Linked DNA regions of Homo sapiens: regions 1, 2 and 3 are each linked to region 4. The links are contacts of gene promoters, found by promoter capture Hi-C in blood cells and fetal thymus (Javierre and others, 2016). All regions are on one chromosome and are shown on one strand. Each heading gives the region's core, a stretch centred on a gene start or on the middle of the fragment in contact. The rest is flanking DNA. Distances are from core to core; before and after follow the strand shown. Region 1 overlaps BTK (Bruton tyrosine kinase). Region 2 overlaps RPL36A-HNRNPH2 (RPL36A-HNRNPH2 readthrough). Region 3 has its middle 2.1 kb from the start of ZMAT1. Region 4 holds the start of SLC25A53 (solute carrier family 25 member 53).

Region 1 (3,367 bases), core at 219-2,718, 2.8 Mb after region 4:
GTTCTTGCTTTCATTCTTCCAATCCTTGGGGAGTGCTTACTGTGTGTCAGCCACCACAGGGGTTTCTGAGGATGAAAACTAAACTGGACATGATCTCTGCCTTTTTAGAACTTAAACCATGTTAAGGAAAACAATTCATTCAGTTTTCAACAGCTTCTGAATACTGATTATGTACCAGGCACTCTGCCAGACCCTATAACTGCAAAGACAAATAAGATGCTGTCTCTCTTCTAGAGGAGTTAATAGTCTAGTACGACCTTGATCTCCATCTAGTGTGGTCAGTACTATAGCAGAAATTTGGGCAAAATATAAAAAGCACAGAGCGGGGAACCAACTGATTCTAATCTTTGAGGTTGATCTAGGAAGACTAGGACCCCTGCTATCCAAAAAGACTGCAAACCAATTTAATAATTTTTTTCACCTTCTAGGGGTTTTGATGTGGGAAATTTACTCCCTGGGGAAGATGCCATATGAGAGATTTACTAACAGTGAGACTGCTGAACACATTGCCCAAGGCCTACGTCTCTACAGGCCTCATCTGGCTTCAGAGAAGGTATATACCATCATGTACAGTTGCTGGCATGAGGTAAGTGCTTTATTAGGATCTCTTAAATTATTTCCTTGAATCTACTTGCCCATTTAGCTGGCCATTCAGCCACCAAAGACTGATAGCTGCACACATTCTTTTTTTTCCTTTTTTTTTTTTTTTAATTTGAGACAAGGTCTCGCTCTTTCACCCAGGTTGGAGTACAGTGGCGCGATCTTGGCTTACTGCAACCTTCGCCTCCCAGATTCAAGCGATTCTCATGTCTCAGCCTCCCAAGTAGCTGGGATTATAGGCGTGCACCACCACACCAAGCTAATTTTTTTTTTTTTTTTTGGTGACACAGTCTTGCTCTGTCACCCAGGCTGGAGTGCAGTGGCACGATTTTGGCTCACTGCAACCTCTGCCTCCTGGGTTCAAGTGATTCTCCTGCCTTAGCCTCCCGAGTAGCTGGGACTACAGGCACATGCCACCGTGCCCAGCTAATTTTTGCATTTTTAGTAGAGACAGCATTTCACCATGTTGGCCAGGCAGGTCTTGAACTCCTGACCTCAGGTGATCCACCCACCTCGGCCTCCCAAAGTGCTGGGATTACAGGCGTGAGCCACTGAGCCTGGCCAATTTTGTATTTTTAGTAGAGATGGCATTTCGCCATGTTGACCAGGCTGATCTCGAACTCCTGGCCTCAAGTGATCCGCCCACCTCGGCCTCCCAAAGTGCTGGGATTAGAGGCATCAACCACCACGCCAGGCCTTGCACACATTCTCTGACCTTGGCCTGCAACTTGATCATCTGATGGCCAGAGGCTTTCCCAGGCCCACTCCGATTCTCACTAGAGTGTCATTAGTACACTCCAATGCCAGCTCAGCTTTAGGGAGTGAGGTGTTGTGGGGCCATGTCATCTAGCATAAGCAGGCAGCCAGAGGCATTCAGACAAGTGAATGGGCATTACAAAAGAAAAGTCATGAAAGTTTGTTCATTCCTTTGTGTGTCATTGGCCCTTTCTTCTACTTTATTAGCTGCCAACCGTTTCTGGCTGAGGTCCTAAATGAGATTTTTTTTTTTTTTTTTTTGAGACCGAGTCTTTCTCTGTCGCCCAGGCTGGAGTGCAGTGGCGTGATCTCGGCTCACCGCAAGCCCCGCCTCCTGGGTTCACAGCATTCTCCTGCCTCAGCCTCTCGAGTAGCTGGGACTACAGGGGCCCGCCACCACGCCCGGCTAATTTTTTGTATTTTTAGTAGAGACAGGGTTTCACCGTGTTAGCCAAGATGGTCTCGATCTCCTGACCTTGTGATCCACCCGCCTCTGCCTCCCAAAGTGCTGGGATTACAGGCATGAGCCACAGCGCCCGGCTAAATGAGATTTTTTTTAAAACCTACTGCTTGAAAGGGAACTAAAACAGGTAGTGGGTTTTTTGTTTGCTTTGTTTTGTTTTGCTTTTTAATATGGTGCATCGTGGGGTATGTGGGTAGGTGTGGTATTTTGGAAATAAGGAAATCTGTCCTACTACTATTAAACTGCTTTGCTCCTCTTACCTCGAGTTCTTCCCAAGATGCCTTCTCTACTTTTCAGTAGATCCTTGGCAACCTAAATTTCTAGTAGGAAATAAATGCTCAACTCTTCAGAGTGTCCAACAAGTGCATATGTGAATCTGGAGCCTTCTTGGTGAGGTGAAAAGTGGGTATCTGGATCCGAGCATGGCTGGTTTCCCTCGAACAAATGACAGATCACAGAGAAAGTGCAGAAAGGGAGGACTCCTTCTTTCTTCTGTGTGATGCAGGATTAAGGGTGATTGGCTATGCTCCCTCCCAATCAGGACCTTCTTACTCTGCTAATTAAAAATGATTTCAGACAGGTACTTTATCCACAGCCTGTTTAAAGGAGTGGTCAAAATTGGATGCATATCAGAAACCCTAAGGAGCTCTTAAAAATGCAGATTACTGGCTGGGCATGGTGGCTCATGCCTGTAATCCCAGCAGTTTGGGAGGCCAAGGCAAGCGGATCACGTGGTCAGGAGATCTAGACCATTCTGGCCAACATGGTGAAACCCTGTCTCTACTAAAAATACAAAAATTAACCAGGCGTGGTGATGTGTGCCTGTAATCTCAGCTACTCAGGAGGCTGAGGCAGGAGAATGACTTGAACCCAGGAGGTGGAGGTTGCAGTGAGCCGAGATCCTGCCACTGCACTCTGGCCTGAGTGACAGAGCGAGACTGTGTCACAAAAAAAAATTCAGGTAACTGGGACTTTTCTCCAGAAATTCTGATTAGCTATGCCTGAAGTGGAACCCAGAAATCTCTTTTTAAACTTCCCAGGAAATTCTGATACTCAGCTAAGTTTAAGAATCACTGAGTCAAGGAATCAAGAAATTGATGACCATTGGTTCTAACAGATTGAGAGCATTCTGGCATGAATGTTCCCTGAACCACTAAATACCAAATACCTCGGGGGCTTATGGGCCATGGCCATCAAAAAGAACCTTAGTCGTAGGCCGGGCGCGGTGGCTCACGCCTGTAATCCCAGCACTTTGGGAGGCTGAGGCGGGGGAATTACCTTAGGTCAGGAATTCGAGACTAGTCTGACCAACATGGTGAAACCCGGTCTATACTAAAAATACGAAAATTAGCTGGGCGTGATGGCGTGCACCTGTAATCCCAGCTACCTGGGAGGCTGAGGCAGGAAAATCGCTTGAACCTGGGAGGTGGCAGTGAGCTGAGCTCACACCACTGCACTCCAGCCTGGACAACAGGGTGAGACTCTGTCTCAAAAAGAAAAAAAAAAAAAAACCTTAGTCTTTTTGTTACCAGTGGTAAAAAAAAAAAA
Region 2 (2,500 bases), core at 1-2,500, 2.8 Mb after region 4:
TGTCACAATACTGGAAATAATTATTCTCCATGTGCCAGAGCTCCCATCTCTTCTCTTTCAGTTCATTAATTAATTAATTAATTCATGTAAAATCCATGCATACCTAACCATAGCTAATATTGTGCACTTATAATTCAAGAGGGCTCTAAGAGTTAATTAGTAATTGTAACTCTCTATAACATCATTTAGGGGAGTCCAGGTTGTCAATCGGTCACAGAGAAAGAAGCATCTTCATTCCTGCCTTTCCTCAATATACACACCATCTCTGCACTACTTCCTCAGAACAATCCCAGCAGTCTGGGAGGTACTTTACACAATTTAAGCACAGAGCAACTGCCTGTCCCTGCTGCTAGTTTAAACATGAACCTTCCAGGTAGCCTCTTCTTAAAATATACAGCCCCAGCTGGGCATGATGGCTCATGCCTGTAATCCTAGCACTTTGGGAGGCTGAGGCGGGTGGATTACTTGAGGTCAGGAGTTCGAGACCACCCTGGCCAACATGGTGAAACCCCATCTCTAGTAAAAATACAAAAATTAGCTGACTTTGGTGGCACATGCCTGTAATCCCAGCTACTTGGGAAGCTGAGACAGAAGAGTCACTTGAACCTGGGAAACAGAGGTTGCAGTGAGCCAAGATCGCACCACTGCACTCCACCCTGGATGACAGACTGAACCCCATCTCAAAAAATTAAAATAAAATAAAATAAAATAACTATATATATAGCCCCAGCTGGAAATTCATTTCTTTCCCTTATTTTACCCATTGTTTTCTCATACAGGTTATAAGCACATGTCCTTGGCCCTGAATAGGACTGGCAGAAGCATTGTGTACTCCTGTGAGTGGCCTCTTTATATGTGGCCCTTTCAAAAGGTGAGATAGTGAGCCCAGAATCCAATAGAACTGTACTGATAGATAGAACTTGACAACAAAGGAAACCAAGGTCTCCTTCAAAGTCCAACGTTACTTACTATCATCCTACCATCTCTCCCAGGTTCCAACCACTTCTCACCATCCCCACTGCTGTAATTATAGCCTAAGCTACCATCACCTGGAAAGTCATCCTTGTGTCTTCCCCTTTATTTCACCATTCATGTCCTGTCTATCAACAGTCCTTCCACCAGTATCTCTAAAATATCTCCTGAATCAGCCCACTTCCTTCCATCTTCACTACATGCACCCTGGCCTTCCAAGCTACTATCGGCTCTCAACCAGACTGCTGGGACCACCTGATCTCTCTGCTTCCACTCTGTCTCAACCCCCATCTATTTTCCAAGCAGCACTAGAGTTATCATATTAAAATGTAAATATCAGTTTTTTTTTTAAAGAAAAAAACCCTGAGACTTAACAGAGTTATAAAAAATATAAATGTCATCATCAGTTCCCTGCTTAAAACCCTTAACTCGCTTCCAATTGCACTTGGAATGAAACCAAACTGCACTGATCCAGCCCTTGCCTGCCTCCCCAAAGTCCAAGGGGTCATGGCTCTTTCCCTGGCTACACTGGTTTTCTTTCTGTCCCTCAACACTGCAAGCCTATTGCTGCCCCAGGGCCTTTACACTTGCTTTTTTTCTGCCTAGAACAGTTCTTCCCCAAAGATTTTTAAAGGGCCGGGCTCCTTAACATTGAAGTCGCAGACCAAACGCCACATATGCAGACAGTTCTTCTCTAACTACTTTAAAATAGCCCTCTGTCCATTCATTCTTCATCACATTAACCTGTTTAATTTTCTTCTCAGAGCTCCACACTATTTGGAAGTATTTGTTGACTTGTTACCATGTCTCCCCACTAGAGTGTAAGTTTCATGAGGGCAGGGACCTTGTCTGACTTTGACTGTATCTCTCGCATATGGTTAAGTGTTGAATAGTTATTTATGGAATGAATCCCTATTATTCCCTCATTATCTCTGCAAAATAGTCTTTTTTCTCAACATCTTAAACCTGATATCCCACCTGCCTATCTACAAACTTTTTTTTTGCGACAGAGTCTCACTGTCACCCAGGCTAGAGTGCAGTGGCGCCATCTCGGCTCACTGCAACCTCCGCCTCCCGGGTTTAAGCGATTCTCTTGCCTCAGCCTCCCAGTAGCTGGGATTATAGGCGTGCGCTACCACATCTGGCTAATTTTTGTATTTTTAGTAGAGATGGTTTCACCATGTTGGCCAGGCTTGTCTCGAACTCCTGACCTCAGATGATCCACCTGCCTCGGCCTCCCAAAGTGCTGGGATTACAGGCATGAGCCACCGTGCCCAGCCTCTACAAACTTTTTATTCCATTAACAAACTATATGCCTGGGATTTAAGTTTTCTTAATACTTGATGGAGTCCTATGTAATTTTGCAGCTTTTAATTTTACTAAGACCATTTTAGTTCTGATTATAGAAGTAAATTAACTTTAAGGGATTTCAAGTTATATGGCCTACTTCTGAAGCAAACTTCTTACAGTGAAAATTCATTATAAGGGTTTAGACCTCCTTATGGAGACGTTCAATCTGTAAACTCAA
Region 3 (3,305 bases), core at 615-3,114, 2.2 Mb after region 4:
TTAAATGGAATTAATGAGCCCAATATAACATCACTTTTGTGAGAAGACTGGGAAATTCTAGGAAACATCTGGCCCATAGCAGGCTTTCCTTAATTGCTACTCTGTGCTATATTCCACCTCCTCTTTCCTGTGAGATAAATTACATTGGCATTCACTTAATAACATTACTGTCATTGAGAGCAATGATAAGTATAAGAGGAGGGAAAGGGAAGTGTGTGCTTATTGTCACAGTGCATGACTGAGGTTTGGTGGCATTTTCATGTTATGGCATGTCACCAAATGCAGCTGAAGGATGGGGAGAAAATTAACTAATAATTTTATTTTATTTTGTGCATTATCCTACCACTTCTTTTTACTGTTAAAGTGGCAGAGACAGAATTTTCCGTGGATCCTAAGAAGGACAAAGTAATTCCATAATTTAATATATATTTGTTGACTGATATAGTTGTTACTGTCAGACAGAGGTCAGGGAACTGCAGAAAACCACTGCTAATCTCACAGATCCTCCAAAGCCTTTGAGTACAAGACTTACAGAAGAATGCTAGGGTCTGAAAAAAAATTTGTTTTATATCTGCCAGATTCCACATAAAGAACAGTTTTTATTTCCTTTCTATTTAAAAAATATCATACAAATACATAGCATTGGTGATACCTAAACCATATTCAGAATCCTGCTGGCAAGAAGTTTAGGAAATGTAATTCACAGGATTCCAGCTTCTGCAACAAAGGAGAGAACATAGACGAGGATGAAAAAGCTTCCAACTGCCAGATGACCTTATCTGCGTAAGTCTCCTGGATTTTACTTCTTTAACCTTTCTGATTCTTTTAAGTACCTGATATTCTACATTAAATATTTTCTGTTTGAAATACCTAGTGTAGTTTCTTTTTTGCTGACTGAATCTTGAGTGATGCCCACTCCTCCAGAGATTCTGAATGAATATTTCTTACCTAAGTGGATTGTGATTCATATTTCAAAAAACAATGTTTTTGAGAGATCCCTCCATATCAGAAGGAATAAAATCACACCCCATTTGTATGCTTGCCTTGTCCTACTAGCTACTTGAGCAGATTATTTCTTGTGTCTGGCCTATCCAGTAATTTCCTTAACGAGTAAAATTTGATCTAACTTACATAAGGACAAGGTAGAAGTCTAGAGAAGCTACCCATTGACTCAGGTAATCTTGGGTAAATTATTGAACCACAAAAAACAACATAAAGATAAGTGTTTAAAAGCCCAGAACTCCAAGTCTCTCTAACTGGTTATTCAGCTCTAGCCAACTGTAGCCATTCAGGAATGCACAGCCAGTACTGCCAAATCTTCATGTTGTTAAGAGACTTTTATTTTGCATGAAATACCCCTTTCAAATGTTGATGAGGTCATGAATAAACAATTGTGTACGTAGAAGAAAACATATCATAAGCCAGATCTAGGGACTTAGAGACCTGGGCCTAGGGATCCCTGCCTTTCAACTTCTGTCCTAGGACTTTACTGGGCTGGAGCATGAGTCATGGAAAATAAGACGCTGTCTTTTGTCTCAAATGGTCCCAGGTTCTTGAGAAGTACAAAGTATATAATTCATTACAATAAAAATACACACCAGATATAGATGTAGCACAGAAGAAGGTGAAATTAACTCTAAGGAGAGACAGAACAGGTTACTTGGTGAGGTGATGTGTTGTCTGGGTTTCTAAGGGTGTATAGGATTTCATTAGGCAAGTGCCTAATGTGGGGGAAAAGGTGTTTCAGGAAGAGAGAAGAACATATATAGTAACATTACATCATGAAATAACATGGTCTTCACAGGAATCTTTTTTTTTTTTTGAGATGGAGTCTCGCTTTGTCGCCCAGGCTGGAGTGCAGTGGCACAATCTCGACTTACTGCAAGCTCTGCCTCCCAGGTTCAAGCCATTCTCCTGCCTCAGCCTCCTGAGTAGCTGGGACTACAGGCGCCCCCCACCATGCCCAGCTAATTTTTTTGTATTTTTAGTAGAGACAGGGTTTCATTGTGTTAGCCAGGATGGTCTCGATCTCCTGACCTCGTGATCCACCCGCCTCGGCCTCCCAAAGTGCTGGGATTACAGGCGTGAACCACCGCGCCTGGCGGTCTTCACAGGAATCTAAGAAGATTTAGGGATTGCTAAATCAAAGTAAAAGCAGAGGGGAGAGATGGGGACAGTGGAAAGAGATGAGGTCAAAGAGGTGAATGGGGAGACTAACAGGGCAAAACTGTGTCTTTTGACTTTGTCCAATAAGCACTGGACAGCCAGTGACGACTGGCAACAACTTGGTAATAGATTGGAGGGATTGAGATCAGAGGAAAGAAGACCAGTGGGGTGGATGCCATACGTCTGACCATATATCATGAGGACTTGAAATACAGCAACGGATCTAAGACTGGAAAGGAGAGAATACTTAAGGGAGACTTGCACAAAGGCACCAGGAGGTGTGCCCATCAATAAGGAAAAGGGTGAGATATCCTACAGCATCGACAGTGCATAACTACAGCTACAAGCAACAACATAGATGAATCTTAGAATGTTACGTGAAAGAAACAAGTCCCAGGCCAAGCATGGTGGCTCCTTCCTGTAATCCCAGCTACTCCAGAGGCTGAGGTAAGAGTATTGCTTGAGGGAAAAAAAAGCAGAAACAAGTCCCAGAATGCTACCTAGAAAAAGATATAAATATTTGTGAAAATTGAAAACAATCAAAACTAAACAACACTATTTAGGCACATATCTATGTGATAAGAATATATGTTAAAATGCAAAGAAATAATAAATATAAATCAGGATATTGGTCTCTTTGAGAGGAGAGGTTGGGGGGACAAGATGAGATTTAAGTGATCAGTAATATTCTAGTACTTCTATTGGGTGCTGAATTCACAGGAAGTTATTGTAATTAAGATGGGCAGATCGATAGATAGGCAGTCCTTTAAGAGGCCACGGAAACAATGTGTCAGAATGAAAGCTTCTGTTCTATTCTCTGTACTAAGTGCTTTAAGAAAGCCAGGGGCCGGGCGTGGTGGCTCACGCCTGTAATCCCAGCACTTTGGGAGGCCGAGACAGGTGGATCATGAGGTCAGGAATTCAAGACTAGCCTGGCTAACATAGTGAAACCCCATCTCTACTAAAAATACAAAAATTAGCTGGGCATGGTGGCACATGCCTGTAATCCCAGCTACTCGGGACACTGAGGCAAAATTGCTTGAACCAGGACCCGGGAGGCAGAGGTAGCAGTGAGTGAGATCGCACCACTGCACTCCAGCCTGGGCTACAGGGCGAGACTCTCCCTCAAAAAAAAAAAA
Region 4 (3,344 bases), core at 83-2,582:
GCTGGTTATGCCAATTCCTACTATAGTCACCTCCTTGGCTGCCAGCCTTCAAGGGAGAGATCTTTGCCTTAGTGGGTTCTGCCCTTCTGCTTCTGAAGAGAACCTAGTCTTTCTGTATGGGCATTCAGGCAATTCTTGGGGTGGGGAGTTGGGGGAGAGAGAGCACTTGAAAAGAATTTATGGTGGCCTTTTTCTCAGTGATATTTGAGAAATACCAAGACACATCTGAATGTATCTGAGTTTAAGTCTTGGCTCTATTTGTTATTAGCTCTGTGACCGTGGGCAAGTTATTGATTTATATGCAATCTGACTAATCTGAGTTTTCTTAGCTGCTTTAAGCAGACAAAGAGGACAGGAAAGGGTAATACACTTAAGAACCAGCAAAGGGCTATTGTGAGGATGAAGCAATAACAACAAAATGGGTTTAAAGCACTTATCATAGTGCGTGGTCCATAGAACTGCAAACGTTGGATTTTGCTTATTTTAGGACAGTACAAAGAGACTCTTTAATATACTCTTCTGACTCCAGCCAGAGTGGTAGTAATTTCCATATCAGCAGTCCCTAGAATCAGGTATTACAGCCTCAGCCTGGAGAGAACAGGGCAATCCCCTCTATCCCAGGTGAAATGATTATTATCATTTATTATTTATTAGCCAGAGGTCTTAGGTGAGATCAAATTCAATCATTATAATTTATATTTCAATATACTGCTTAACTTCATGATAGGCAATGTTCTAGGTGCTCCTCACATGTGAAATTTTAATATTTTTACTGCAACTCTGGAGGTAAGTACTATTATTATACCAATTCTACAGATGAAAAAGCCAAGGAATAGCATGCTTGAATCACTTGCCCAAGATGCCATGTTTAGATAGTGGTACAGTGGGGATTCGAACGCGGGAGCTCAGGTTTCAAAGTCTGTGCTCTTTACATATGCAGCTAAAGAGTCAGACAAGAACCAAAAGGAGATGGAGAATAGAGGGTAGAAAGGGCACAGGTTCAAGGTGAAAGGTCAGAAACTGCAAATTCGGAGTTTGGGTTGGTCTAGCAGCTTAAAGGCGTCATCATGAACTGTTCACCTAAGTAAGTTAAGCTCCTGTTTGAGAATGACTGATAAGCTTGCAAGCCAACTTACAAACAAACTGGGGAAATGTTCCAATAGATGACTAAGTCTTTTAGGTCTTTTTACCTGTGTTTTTCGGTCTCTATACCAGATTAGTCGCCTGGCTCTCCCAAACAGACCGGCCAACTGACGTAGTCGCGAAACGGTTAATGTCGAGGCGGGGGCGGGGGAGGCGGAAATAAAGAGAGCGGAAGCAAAGAGGATTGTGGGAGCTCCGTTGTGCGTCGCTTAAGTGAGGGCGGCGGATGGGCGAAGGTCCGGTGACTGCGACTGTCGCTGCTTTCTGAGGCCACAGGAAAGGGGCCGTCGGTCGCCGCCATGACAGCGAGCGAGGCGGAGGTTTGTAGCACTTCTTATGGGCTGAGGGCGTAGACACATCCTGCTTCCAGCCTAGCAGGCAAACGGGAACGGAAGTGATAGGGGATCAGAAGTTGCGAGGGGATGAGGAGTAGGGGAAACTGACAAGCGGACGGACCCGGCGGCGAGAATTGATGGCGTAGCTGTAGGATTAAGGGGCGTGTCAACTGTGTTGTGTGTGTTGACACTGAGATGTGTGAATCCCCTCATTATTTTTAGCTGGGGACAGGCGGGGTCTATGGGGGAGGGGGCGGACGGATGAATGGAGGATAAAATCAGGGCGAAAACGTGTTGTCTGCTGGGCACCAGTACATCTGAGTCACATCTCAGCAGGATGATTTTATTGGAAAGATCTAGGTCCCTGGTTTCAGATTCTGCTATTGATGCGTTGATTGATTTCCCTTACCAAAATACCAAGTACCTGCTCTGTGCTGGGTACTGCACTAGAGGCTCCGGATGAGGAAAGGAATTAGGCTTTTTCCTCGACATTTACAGCCTGCCGGTTGCTATCTGCATTTGGAGACAGGCTATTACAATACAAGGAGACAGAGATAGATCCTGTGTTATGAAAATCTATTGGGTGCCACCGAACTCATCTGGGAGTTGAGATCTGGGACGGCTCTTTGATGCGGTGATTTAACATATATTTTGAAGACAAAATAAGCAGGGCAAAAACGAAGTGCAATTTTCCTCCAAGCACCTTCCCTCCCTGTTGAGGTGAACTGGAGAACTGAGTAGCATTTAAGGCCCAAAATTAGTGTATTTCTTTTTTTTTTTCTTTCTTTCTTTCTTTTTTTTTTTTTTGATAAGGAGTCTCTCTACTTCTGTCGCCCAGGCTGGAATGCAGTGGCGTGATCTCCGCTCACTGCAACCTCCGTCTGCCGGGTTCAAGTGATTCTCCTGCCTCAGCCTCCCGGGTTGCTGGGATTAGAGGCACCCACCACCACTCCCGGCTAATTTTTATATTTTTATATTTTTAGTAGAGACGGGGTTTTACCATGTTGGCCAGGTTGGCCTCGAACTCCTGACCTCAAGTGATCCGCCTGCCTCGGCCTCCCAAAGTGCTGGTATTACAGGCATGAGCCACCGCGCCCGGTCCCCACAACTAGTTTATTTCTGGTAAGAGCATTTGCCCATCACAATGGGACTTCCAGGCGCCTCTGGAAGAATCAGTCTTACGTGAGTGCAAAGCCTGCAAGCTCTGGGTAGGACTACGATGGAGGTGCTAGTTACTTGGTTTTCCAGCAAACTCGGTTCACAGCAGGGAATTGTGCACCCACCAGAAATCCTAAGCAATATTTCTCTGAACAAGAAAAGAAGCCTCTTTGTTTACCAGAGAAACAACAGTATAGCAGTCTAAGTCAGTGGCTCTCAAACTTTCCTGTGAATCAGAATCAGATGGAGCGTTTCTTAAAACCAAGATTGCTAGGTCCCATCCACAGAGTTGCCCCTACAGTTGGTCAGGAGTGGACCCCCGAATTTACATTTCTAACTAGTTCCCAGGAGATGCTGATACTCCTGGACATGGGGCCATACTTGGAGAACTATAGGTCTAAACGGAGCTGACAATAAATTGGAAAGAATATCTCCTGGAATCTCTTAGAACCCGGGAGGCAGAGGTTGCAGTGAGCCAAGATTGCGCCACTGCACTCCAGCCTGGGCAACAGAGTGAGACTCTGTCTCAAAAAAAAAAAAAGAATATCTCCCCTAGGGAAGGCTAGGCACACTCCTAAACGTCAGGCATGTCTGAATTCAGACACAGTAGATATGAAATAAAATGGACTTATTTGACACTGCTTAGAAAATCTTTTTATTTTTATATTTGTATAATTTTATTGTATATTTACAAATTGTATACATTTA

The links. The method cuts DNA at HindIII sites, captures the fragments that hold promoters and counts their contacts. A CHiCAGO score of 5 or more calls a contact.
Region 1: a contact is called between a fragment that was not itself captured here and the fragment with the promoter of SLC25A53 in region 4, in 2 of 17 cell types (activated CD4 T cells and non-activated CD4 T cells). The highest score is 6.2, in activated CD4 T cells.
Region 2: a contact is called between a fragment that was not itself captured here and the fragment with the promoter of SLC25A53 in region 4, in 3 of 17 cell types (monocytes, activated CD4 T cells and total CD8 T cells). The highest score is 7.1, in monocytes.
Region 3: a fragment that was not itself captured here is called in contact with the fragment with the promoter of SLC25A53 in region 4 in 2 of 17 cell types (total B cells and activated CD4 T cells); the score reaches 10.0 in total B cells.

Annotation. Positions count from the first base shown.
Region 1 is chrX:101,350,413-101,353,779 of GRCh38, reverse strand. It overlaps BTK (Bruton tyrosine kinase), which reads left to right. Exons shown (of 19, transcript NM_000061.3): 18 at 429-586. Among named protein-coding and RNA genes, the nearest start is that of TIMM8A, 3.4 kb to the right of the region's middle. The HindIII fragment of the contact is 4,884 bases long and covers 1-3,367 here.
Region 2 is chrX:101,399,037-101,401,536 of GRCh38, reverse strand. All of the region lies in intron 3 of RPL36A-HNRNPH2 (RPL36A-HNRNPH2 readthrough), which reads right to left. GLA (galactosidase alpha) reads left to right here. Exons shown (of 7, transcript NM_000169.3): 4 at 780-871. Among named protein-coding and RNA genes, the nearest start is that of GLA, 7.6 kb to the left of the region's middle. The HindIII fragment of the contact is 4,058 bases long and covers 1-2,500 here.
Region 3 is chrX:101,932,428-101,935,732 of GRCh38, reverse strand. No RefSeq gene overlaps it. Among named protein-coding and RNA genes, the nearest start is that of ZMAT1, 2.1 kb to the right of the region's middle. The HindIII fragment of the contact is 2,213 bases long and covers 758-2,970 here.
Region 4 is chrX:104,154,997-104,158,340 of GRCh38, reverse strand. SLC25A53 (solute carrier family 25 member 53) reads left to right here and starts at 1,332. Exons shown (of 2, transcript NM_001012755.5): 1 at 1,332-1,463. It also overlaps a transcript of FAM199X not described here. RefSeq lists an enhancer at 1,259-1,558. The HindIII fragment of the contact is 6,927 bases long and covers 1,122-3,344 here.